Linked DNA regions of Homo sapiens: region 1 is linked to region 2. The links are contacts of gene promoters, found by promoter capture Hi-C in blood cells and fetal thymus (Javierre and others, 2016). All regions are on one chromosome and are shown on one strand. Each heading gives the region's core, a stretch centred on a gene start or on the middle of the fragment in contact. The rest is flanking DNA. Distances are from core to core; before and after follow the strand shown.

Region 1 (5,144 bases), core at 1,052-3,551, 100 kb before region 2:
GGAGTTTGAGACCAGCCTGGACAACACAGCGAAACCCTGTCTCTACTGAAAACACACACAAAAAATTAGCCAGGTGTAGTGTTGCACACCTGTTACCCCAACTACTCAGGAGGCTGAGGTAGGAGAATCTATTGAACCTGGGAGGCAGAGGTTGCAGTGAGCCAAGATTGCACCACTGCACTCCAACTTGGGTGATAGAGCAAGACTCTGTCTCAAACAAACAAACAAACAAACAAACAAACAAAGCCCCATGATGGTTAAAATGGTAACTTTTATGTTATGCATATTCTAATACAATTTTTTTTTAAAAAAATTGAGAAGCAGGACCTAGGCAGCAAAATAAGAAGGTGTGTGGTGGGCAGTGGGGAGGAGGCAGTCCCTTCCCTTTTCATATTCAGATTCAGACAACACAGACTTTTGGGGATGAGGCCTTTCATAGGAGAGGGAAAATTATTCTAAGACCAGGGGAGTTGGACGGGGCTGGGGATTTGGGGTTGGGTTTCTGGGGGCTTTCTACTTGAGGTGCCCCTTAGACAGGGCCCAGAGGACAGGAAGATGGCAAGGTTGTTCAAGGTTAACAGCGCTTTAGGGAGCACAGTCCAGAGGATCTTTCAGTTTCCTTCTAGAATGTGGATTCCAGTTCTTCAAGATAAGGGAGGAGGCATAGACACTGAGGAGAATACTGCCCAGGAATCAGTACAAGACATGTGGTTGGAGACTCCTTGAGAGCCCCACACCTGGTAGGAAGCAGAAGCAGGAGAAATGCCAGCAGACACTGACATTTGTCTGGGCCAGATTGACGTGTGGATTCTTGTCTGAATCTTGGCCCCAAATCTCACTTAAGGCTTTTTAGTAAGCTTCAATTACTCAAGGAACTGAGCCTGGCCTGCACTGGTTCATAAATCTTTGGGGCTCCTTGATTTGCAGGAAAGCAAAGTAATTGGCAGAGTCTATGGGATTTCTTCCCTCTGGCCTTGGAAGAATAAGGACCAACTTGTCTGCAATGGACAATGGACTTGGAGGGCTAGTATCAAATAGCTTTTCCTCTCTGTGGCATTTCCTGTCGCTGCCCTTCCTCTCCTTTTTAGCTTGTTCTAAGTCTCTAACCCCCATTATGCCTGGCAGGCACTACTCTTTGCCCACAAAGATAATTTGCAGCTCTAAAGCTCAGCTCTCTAGCCAGAGCAGTCTCCTAGTCTTTCCTTTTTGTCATCCCAATAATTAAACATTGGTGAACTTGCCACTTGTTCAGAACTTTGATAATCACTGAACCCCAACAAGGGGGAGGGCACAATGTACACTGGGGAGGGAAAAACACCAAGCCCTGGTTCTTGCCAAGAAGAATTTAAAAGTGCAGAGATGACAGGCACACAGATCAGCCTATTTAAGGAAGAGAGAGGAACAGCAGAGGCAGGAATGCATGGAGGGTGGTAGGAGCACAGAGGAGAGCGATAATGGTAGCGATATTATCTTCTCTGACATACAAGATTGGGCCTGGGCAGGAGCCAGGTTAAAGTGGAGACCTGGCTATTGGTCACTGGGTACTTTGGCAGAGGGTTTAAAGCAACTACTGGTGAAGCTCTGCCCTGGGGGCTAGGACTCTACTTTTCGTTGCTGCTGATGTAGTTCCTACCCTGCCACAGGGCACTCACTTACTCCCCACCTCATTTTGGGGGGTCATTTGCAGCAGGACCTTTTCCTTTACCATTGAGATAAACAGATAACCCAAAGGAAGGGTCAAGAGGCTCTAGGTGGGTGGCTGGAAAGGGTTTTTATTAAGAAGGCAATCAGGGACTGAGAGTCCTGTCCTAAGAGTGCTTAAGAAAGAGAAAGACCAGGCGTGGTGGCTCATGAGCCTGTAATCTCAGCACTTCAGGAGGCTGAGGTGGGAGGATTGCTTGAGCCCAGGAGTTCAAGACGAGTCTGGGCAACAAAGTGAGACCCCATCTCTACAAAAAAGAAAAAAAAACTTAGCCGGGTGTGGTAGCATGTGCTTGTGGACCCAGCTACTTGGGAACCTGAGGCAGGAGGATCACTTGAGCCTGAGAAGTTGAGGCTGCAGTGAGCTGTGATCACACCACTGCACTCCAGCCTGGGTGACAGAGTGAAACTCGTGTGTGTGTGTGTGTGTATGTGTGTGTGTGTGTGTGAGAGAGAGAGAGAGAGAGAGAGAGAGAGAGAGAGAATGGCTCTGCTGAAACAAATTTTGCTGCATCCAGCCAAGCCTAGGGCCTGCAGTCACTCTCACAAGGCCTGTTCCGTGCAGCAGGGAGGTCAGGGCTGAGGGGCCCATAGAGGCCTGGGGGCCAGCCTGGGGTCAAGCAGGTCAGAGAGGGGAAGGGGAGGGTTAACCCTACTTATGAACTCCCATCTGAGTCTCCCAAGAGAAGAAAGTTCATGTGTGTGTGTTATAGGGGTGTGTGTGTGCCAGCTGGGGGTACAGAGGTAAGGAGGGGAGATTGTAGAGTAACACCAACTCAGGGTGTGTTTTTAGGGGTGAGGCTAGCCAGTTGCTGGTTATGCATCTCCATGGAAAACAATACTCAACTGCTAAGCTAGATGGTCCTAGGATACTTGCAGGAACGTCTCTGCAGGCTCAGGGCAGTAGAGAGCCTTTGCCTGCCCACCTGTCACTCCCTGGCTGGTGCAGTGACACTTACCGGCTAACTCATACTCAAGGCATCAATAGGAAGGGGTACCACCTCGTACTCCAGGCATCAATAGGAAAGGCCGCTGAAACAGCAAATGACCAACATTTCCCAAAGAGCCCCCTACAGCTCTACAACCCACATCTCTGAGGACACTTCCTCTTCTCTGAGTACACCCCCCTGCCACAGCCTCCCCCACCCCCATACAACCTCTACCTCTTCTAGACAGCTGACACACCTGCACTGTCTCAACCCTCCACCCCTGCTGAACCCATCTGTGCCCCTAGGACAGTGTTTCTTCATATATTAATGTGCATAGAAATCATCTGGGCATATTATTTAAATGCAGATTCTGATTCAGTAGGTCTGGAACCTGAATTGTCAGCATTTCATATTAGCTCCCAGGTGGTACCAATGCTGTTAATACAGCGACCACACTTGGAATAGTGTGGCTCTAGGCCAGCCTCTCTACGCCCACACCATCCCCAGACAGCCTCTCAAAGAGCCCTCCACCCTGACCTTAACCTGGTTACATTCCTAGTGGCAAGAGGGAACAATAGTCTGGGAAGAGAGGAGAGAAGAGGAGGGACTTCTCAAAGCTCACGTTGGGGAGGCAGCTCTACTAAGAACTCTGGCTGGATCCAGGCAGGGAGTTGTTCGGAACAATTTAGCCCAGGTGTAGTTCTTCCAAAACTCATCCAGTCATTTAGTTAATGTTGCTTAAATACCTGCCAGAGGTACGGCCATGGTGCTAAGTGCTTTATCTATATTATTTCATTGAATCCTCCCCAAAACCAAGTAAGGCAAATATCATTTTCATTTTAAAATTGAAGAACTAGGTTGCATAAAGTAATATGTCCAAAGTCACACCTGGTAGGCAATTTGAATCTAATTTCCTCATCTCTCTTACCCCAGCCCCTTCTCAGAGACTTAGATAAAGTCATGAGATTAACAACGTACCAGAACTTACACCTCTGTGGGACTGTTGTCTTGCAAAGCAGTCACTTGGAAGGCTGGTACCTAGTTCAATCATGTCTCTGGAGCTCAACACAAACTTGTAGCCCCTCTTTAGAAAATAGCATGGATGCTTTCTGATCACAAGCTTCCTGCTCAATTGAGTTCTCCACAGGAAGGAAATATTGGAGCCACTGAAGCAGTCGATAGCTCAAGATGGAGAGAGAGACTGGCAGGAAGCAACAAGAAAGAAAATGCGTTGGAAACTGAGAATGGTGAGCCCAGGAGACAAAAGAAGAGGGCAGTGCAAGAAAAGGAGATGAAAGGGGCCTTAGCCACCAAATTCAGTTCTGGTCCTACATTTTAAGGGCATCTATATTCTAGGCACTGTGCTGGGTTCTGGACATATAAAAATAATATGGGCTGGGCGCGGTGGCTCACACCTGTAATCCCAGCACTTTGGAAGGCCGAAGTGGAAGGATTGCTTGAGCCCAGGAGTTTGAGACCAGCCTGGGCAACATAGTAGGACTCCATTTCTACAGAAAAATTAAAGAAAATTAGCCCGGCATGGTGGCACGTGTCTGTAGTCCTAGCTACTCAGAAGGCTGAGGTGGGAGGATCACTTGAGCCTGGGAGGTTGAGGCTGTAGTGAGCCATGATTGCACAGAGCGACAGAGTGAGACCCCTTCTTCTAAATAATAATAACAATAATAAGGCCCCTGCCCATGAAGAGCTCATAAGCCAGTGAGTGAAGCAAGTGAATAAGCAGATAATTTTAATCATATGCTGAGTGCTATGACAGAGGTTTGTATGTGTACAGGACAGAGGCAACTATCCCACTCTGGGGAATTAGGGAGGACTTCTCCAAAGAAAACTGATGGAGGAAGCAAGAATAGGAAGTATTAGTGAACCAGATGAGGAAAGGAGTGGCAAACAAAAAGAAAAAAGAAGAGAAAGGACTGGTGGGAAAGATGCACATGACTATAGAGCAGGCAAAAAGAACAGGTCAATTTTACTAGAATGTTAATGTTAGGGGACGAAGTGGCAGGTGATGAGTCTAGAATGACAGGAAGACTTAAAATCATGAAGGGCTTTGTAAGATATGTTCAGGGTTTTGGACTTCACCTGGAAATAATGGGGAGCCACTGAAGGATTTTCAGCCCATTGTCAGATTTAGATAGACTGACTGCTCTGGGAGCAGGTCCAAGGAATAGGCAGGAATGATTAAACTGGAGGCAGGGAGGCTAGATAAAGGTCATTGCAGTAGGTGACAAAGCTTGAAAAAGTCAGTGTCAGTGGGGTTGGAAAAAAGGAGGTGGAGAAGAAAAACATGTTGAGGTCAAACCGCTGGGGCACTAAGGCTGACTGGATCTGGGTTTGAGGGAAAAGACTTGAGCTAGGATGACTCCCAGGTTTCCTCCTGACTCAGGTGACTGCGTGAATTGTGATGCCACCAAATAAGATGGAGAAACAGAAATAAGAGTAAGGCTTGTGGTTTTGTTTTGTGTGTAAATATGTGTATGTTTATAAATAAGAAGGGCT
Region 2 (5,146 bases), core at 1,584-4,083:
CAACCTGACCTGAAGGCATCAGGTGAGAGGACTAGGTGAGGTCCGGGCCCCTGAGGCTCTGTCCACAGCCCCTCCCTCCCCAAACACATACCCATTAGCTCCTTGATAGGTCTCGGCCAGGGACCTTCCCATGGTAAGGATGGTGCCAGCAGTCAGCCCCCCGCCTTCGCAGAGCTGGATTTCCCTGGCCTGGAAGGTTGTTCCCCTGAGGGTCAGGGAATGGATGCCTTTTCCCACTCCCACAAGCATCAAGACCCCATGTCCATCTGAGGTTCAAGCCAGAGCTGGACTCCTTTTTGCAAGCTGTCAGCTGAGCCCCTGTGTCACCTAACCCGAGTTGGGGAATGATCGTGTCAGGGAGAGGGGAGGCAGGGATCCAGAATTTACTGGGCAGGGGAGGGGTAGGGCACAGCTGGACAGGCTGGGCAGAGGAGGTGGTGCTGGGACCCAGAGAGGGGGGGCCCACCATTCCTCCCTCATGTATACTTTCCCTCTCCCCAGGAAAAGAAGGGGCAGGAGGTGCAGAAGGGTCCAGCTGTGGAGATTGCGAAACTGGACAAACTGCTGAACCTGGTGAGGGAAGTGAAAATCAAGACCTGAGGGGCTGGCCTCAGTCTCTGTCCCATCGCTTGAATACAGTACTCCTAGGGCTTGACCCTGGTACCCAGCCCAGCCTTAGCACCCAGCATGTGACCCCACTCCTGATCAGGTCCCAGCATCTTCCCTTCTTGTTCTGTTCCTTAAGGTCCCAGCACCTTACCCCAGGACTTGGTCTTCAACCACCATTACCCCTCTAACTTTGCACAAATAAACCTGTGTAGAAACCCACCCCACACCTTTAATTGTGCTACCACAGGGCCCTCAGGAAGAGAAGAAAACCTCAGGGTAGAGCCATAGTTCCATTTATTATCCAGCAAACACTGGGAGGACCAGGGGAGGGGCCCAGCCTGGACACCCTCCTATTATTGCCATGGGTTCCAGTTTGCTTCCCCAGCCTAGAGGGCCTAGAGGTGCTCAGCCTAGGGAAAGAGTGGACCCGGCCCCTGACCCTTGGCCCTTGGGATGGAGCATAGTCCAGATGGCCCTGGCTCTAGCACCAACTCATAAGCCCCCACCCCAGGCCCATCTCCTTAGGGCCACTGAGCTCCTATTGGAGCCAAGCTGGCTAGACTCTGGGCCGCTGGGTCCAGCTCCAAGCAGGCGGACTCTTGAGTTCTGGACCCCAGGCTGGCTGAACTCTGGGATCCTAATTCCAGGCTCTAGGTGAGGTGGACTTAGGTCCTGGGCTCCAGGCTAGGCCAGGGGCCTTCAGGGCTGCAGCAGGTAGCTGCCTTCATGGCTGGGCTTCTGGGGTGGTGGGGCCTTCTCAGGACAGGGGCCAGGGCTGGAGTTGGGACTGGATTCAGAGAGAGAGTCAACGTCGGCAGAGCGAGAATGGCAGGCCCAGCAGAGGATGACCCAGAGCAGCAGCAGCAAGAAGCCCACGAGACCGTTGCAGACGATGGCGATGAGGGCCCCCTGGGAGATGGCTGCCCCCATGACAGGCAGCACCCTCAGACCAGCACAGACAGTGGAGCTGCCTCAATGGTGAGGCCCATGCCGAGGCAGGACTCTGGTATGGCCGGCCTTCAGAGGAGGCTGTGCTGTCTGCACGCTCAGTGATTCCTGGGCAGTGGAGATGTCTACCTGCAGTCCTGAGCCTGTTGGGGGTATACAGTAAAGGAGAGGGTGGTGAGGAGGAAGGGTGGGGTGAGGCCTAGGAGGAGAGAGGTAGGGAAGAGAGCCTCCCTCCCACATTTCTGGCCTCCCTGGTGAAAGACCTTGGGTCCCAACAGGCTCGAATACCCCACAGAGCCATCACCCCCATCCACAGGCTTGGTTCTGGCCACCTGAATGAGTGTGTAGCCACCGTGGGGAAGCTGCAGTAGGCAGCCGTCATCTCATTCTCCTTAGACCTGGTGGGCATGCCCTGGTCCTGCCCACCAAGCTTGCAGCCCTCAAAAGCCCTCTGTTGGTGGGTGGGATCCAGGAAGCCCCCAGCCCAAAAGGATGGGGGTTGTAAGCAGCTCTGGTGTGGCCTGGGCGCCTCCTCTCTCCCAGGACTCCAGCCAGCCCGACCAGGAGACCTCCAGAGGCGCCAGCTTGCACAGAGGGAACTTTGTGGAGGCCCTGGCAGGCATGTGCAGGCTCTGTGCGTCCAGGGCTGTGTGCCTCTATGTGGGGCTGCCTCTCTGGGTCAGGTGTGTGTGTGTGTCTGGTGTCTCACTGTCCCTCCGTTGGATGTGTGCCTGTGCCTCTGCACACCCACCTCTGTGTGTGTGGCTGCCTCTCCGTGTGTCCCCATCTCTGAGTATGTCTCCTCTATGTCTCATTTCTCTACCAGTGTGTCTCTGTGTATCTCTGCATCAGTCTCTGTGTCTCTCTCTCTCTTCCAGGCTGTATCCCCCTCTGTTCCCATGGACGTGTCCCTATCCCCTTCTCCGTGGGGTCTTTTCGGTGGTTCCTGTGTCTCTGTCTTTGTGTTCGTCTCTCTCCGCGGCAGTGTGTCTCTGTCTCTTTATCTCCATCTTCGGGTCGCGTGTTCTTGGCCCCCGTGCCCGTGGCGGGAGGCCCTTCTTACCTGAGTTGAGCCTGGTGCGCGCCCGCGGGAGGGTCCGGGGCAGCGGGATGCTCGGCGCCGACTAAGGCTTGGGAGCCTGCGGGCGGGGGGCGGCGGGAGGTGGGAGACCAGCAGAGGCGACGTCCGCTCCCCCGGCCCTCCCCCTCGGCCGCGCAGCCTCCACCGGCCGCTCCCGCCGCGGCGCGACCGGGGCGGCCTCTGCCGCGGGCGGTCTGCGGTGAGCGGGCACCTCCTCCCCTTGGGGCCGCACCTCCTCCGCGGCCGCGGCGCTCGCTCGCTCGGCAGCGCTCGGGCGGCGGCGGCGGGAGCTGCGCGGTGTTCGGCTGGGCTCGGCTGCGTTCGGTTGGGCTCGGCTGGGCTCGGCTACGTTCGGCTGGGCTCGGCCGGGCTCGGCGGCCAGCAAAAACAGCGAAGAGCCTCGCCTCCTGGGAGGCCGGCGGCCTGCGGCCCGGGGGCGGAGCCATCCCAGCGCCGCTGCCGCCACTCAATTGGCTGGCCGAACCCCGGTTCCCGCACCATTGGTGGTGCGCTGAGGTGGGGACCAGCCCGCCTCTCGTGCCGGCGCGGGGCGGGAGGAGGGCCGAAGGAGTAGCTGGCCCTGGATCCTTCCCGGGAGAGGGGATGGGGTGGGGGCAAGGCCTAACCTCTGGTAGGGATTTCTTGCACCTTCTACACCTGGAAGGGTTGTACACCCCACATCCGAGAAAGGCCAAGGCCTCTGCATTTCCACATGTGAGGAAACCACCCCTCTGTATCTGGGAGAGGTCTCTTAAGTAAGTCATCCGGAGGAAGGCCCCGCGTCCCCACACCTGGCAGGAGACTGAATCTCCTCACCTAGGGAACCGCCTATAGTGCAGTCCCGCACTTCCCTCTGCCACCTGGGTGTGGACTCTGCATTCCCACTTTAGAGGGCCCCAGGTTCCCTGGCCCTAAGAGGTGTGAAAATCTCTGGCAACACAGGTTCTTTGGACACATTTACTGAGTTCCTACCCAGTGTTGGTCGCAGGCTTGCTGCCAGGCTGTTGGGGAGTCTGGGACAGAAATGGAGTGTCCTGAGCGATGGTTCTGCCCTGGCTGGAATAGGTGCAGGCGTGGTGGAAATCCTGCCTTGCCATCCTAAAAGCTCCCCTAAGAAGAAGATAGCTTGGACAGGAGCAGTGAGGTAGACCTTGTCCTCCCCGACCTTCACAGGCCAGTGATTGTCACCTATTCTGATCCGGCCGTCTTCTCATCCCGCTCTACATGCTCTCCTTGGAGGATCACATCCCTGAAGCTATATCATGAAGACTCCCAGTGCTCCCAAGTCTAGCCTTAACTTCTCTCTGGAATCCTAGACTCATATAACTAAGTGCCTACTGTAATCGGGGCAGTATTGATTCCTGGTTCACTTACTAACTTTGTGATCTTGAGCAAGTTACTAAATCTCTCTTAGCCTCAGCTTCCTCATCTGTAAAATGGTTGTAATGCTACCTCTCAGGGTTGTTATTCACTAATTTATAGCAGATCGATCACATCTCAGCAAATGCCAGCTGACACAACCCCCAGGACCATGTGACTAAGAGGCCCCTTCCCCCAATCCAATGCCATGAAATTCACATAAGACCCCTGTAAATCCAGATGCTATCTTGAAAGAAGAAAGGGAAGACTGAGTCATCCAAAGCTACCAAAGTACTTAGAGACTGTCTAAAATAAATTATTGGATCCTATAGAGTTTACCAGAGTGGATTACTTTTAGCTCCCCCCCACTGCCCATTACCCAGCAGGGTGAGGGCATTGTGAGAAAGATCAGCCTAGTTATAGGAAACAGAGGAGACTTAAATCATCGCACATCTGAGTGTAATGTGAGCGAATTTTGTGACCCAGCTGCAGGAGTTCAGATTTTATCCTGAAAACAGTGGGGAGCCACTGAAGAATTTTTGAGCAGAAGAGTAATGCGATCATATCCAGAAATTAGTAGGATGATTTGGGCTATGGTGTGGAATGGGGGCTTGAAAGCATTTGAGAGTGAAGGCAAGGATTAATAATAAGGGACTGAAATGATGGAAGGAAAAAGTTGTAGAGAGAAAAGGAGAGCATTGAGGATATTTGGGAGCTGCTGCTGGTGGGACTTAGAGAACTAGAGGATAGGGGAGGTAAGCAGGAAGGAAAAGTCTGGGATGACTCCCGGGTTAGTGACGAGGGATGCTGTGATGCCATTTACTGAATACACAGGTTCAGGAGAGAGGTCCAGGCTAAAGATAATATTTTGTGAGTTGTCAGCAAAAGAATGGTAGTTAAATGAGAAAAATAGATGAGCTCACCCAGGGAGAGAGATAACTAGTTTAAGCAAAAAGATAAATTTATAATCAGATACGGAAACCTAAGGGCAAGGATGACTCAGGAACAACTGAAACTAAGAGATCAAAAGCCACCCAGAAGAGTTCTCTCTCTACCTCTCAACTCTGTTACTTTCTGCCTGCCTCCATTTCCCTCCCCTGTCCCAAGTCCCTGTCCTCCCCATCCCCAGACTGACTTCCAATATGCTTC

What was found. The method cuts DNA at HindIII sites, captures the fragments that hold promoters and counts their contacts. A CHiCAGO score of 5 or more calls a contact.
Region 1: a contact is called between a fragment that was not itself captured here and the fragment with the promoter of ENHO in region 2, in 1 of 17 cell types (endothelial precursors). The highest score is 7.3, in endothelial precursors.

The regions. Positions count from the first base shown.
Region 1 is chr9:34,418,861-34,424,004 of GRCh38, forward strand. The region is part of intron 1 of FAM219A (family with sequence similarity 219 member A); the gene reads right to left. LOC124902145 (a long non-coding RNA gene) reads left to right here. Exons shown (of 3, transcript XR_007061465.1): 2 at 3,778-3,877. Among named protein-coding and RNA genes, the nearest start is that of SPMIP6, 24 kb to the left of the region's middle. The HindIII fragment of the contact is 2,893 bases long and covers 856-3,748 here.
Region 2 is chr9:34,520,157-34,525,302 of GRCh38, forward strand. ENHO (energy homeostasis associated) reads right to left here and starts at 2,834. Exons shown (of 2, transcript NM_198573.3): 1 at 2,621-2,834; 2 at 887-1,700. The coding sequence starts at 1,539. The coding sequence ends at 1,309. It overlaps DNAI1 (dynein axonemal intermediate chain 1), which reads left to right. Exons shown (of 20, transcript NM_012144.4): 20 at 502-828. The coding sequence ends at 600. RefSeq lists an enhancer at 1,578-2,130 and silencers at 2,760-2,869, 2,890-3,259. The HindIII fragment of the contact is 3,209 bases long and covers 1,986-5,146 here.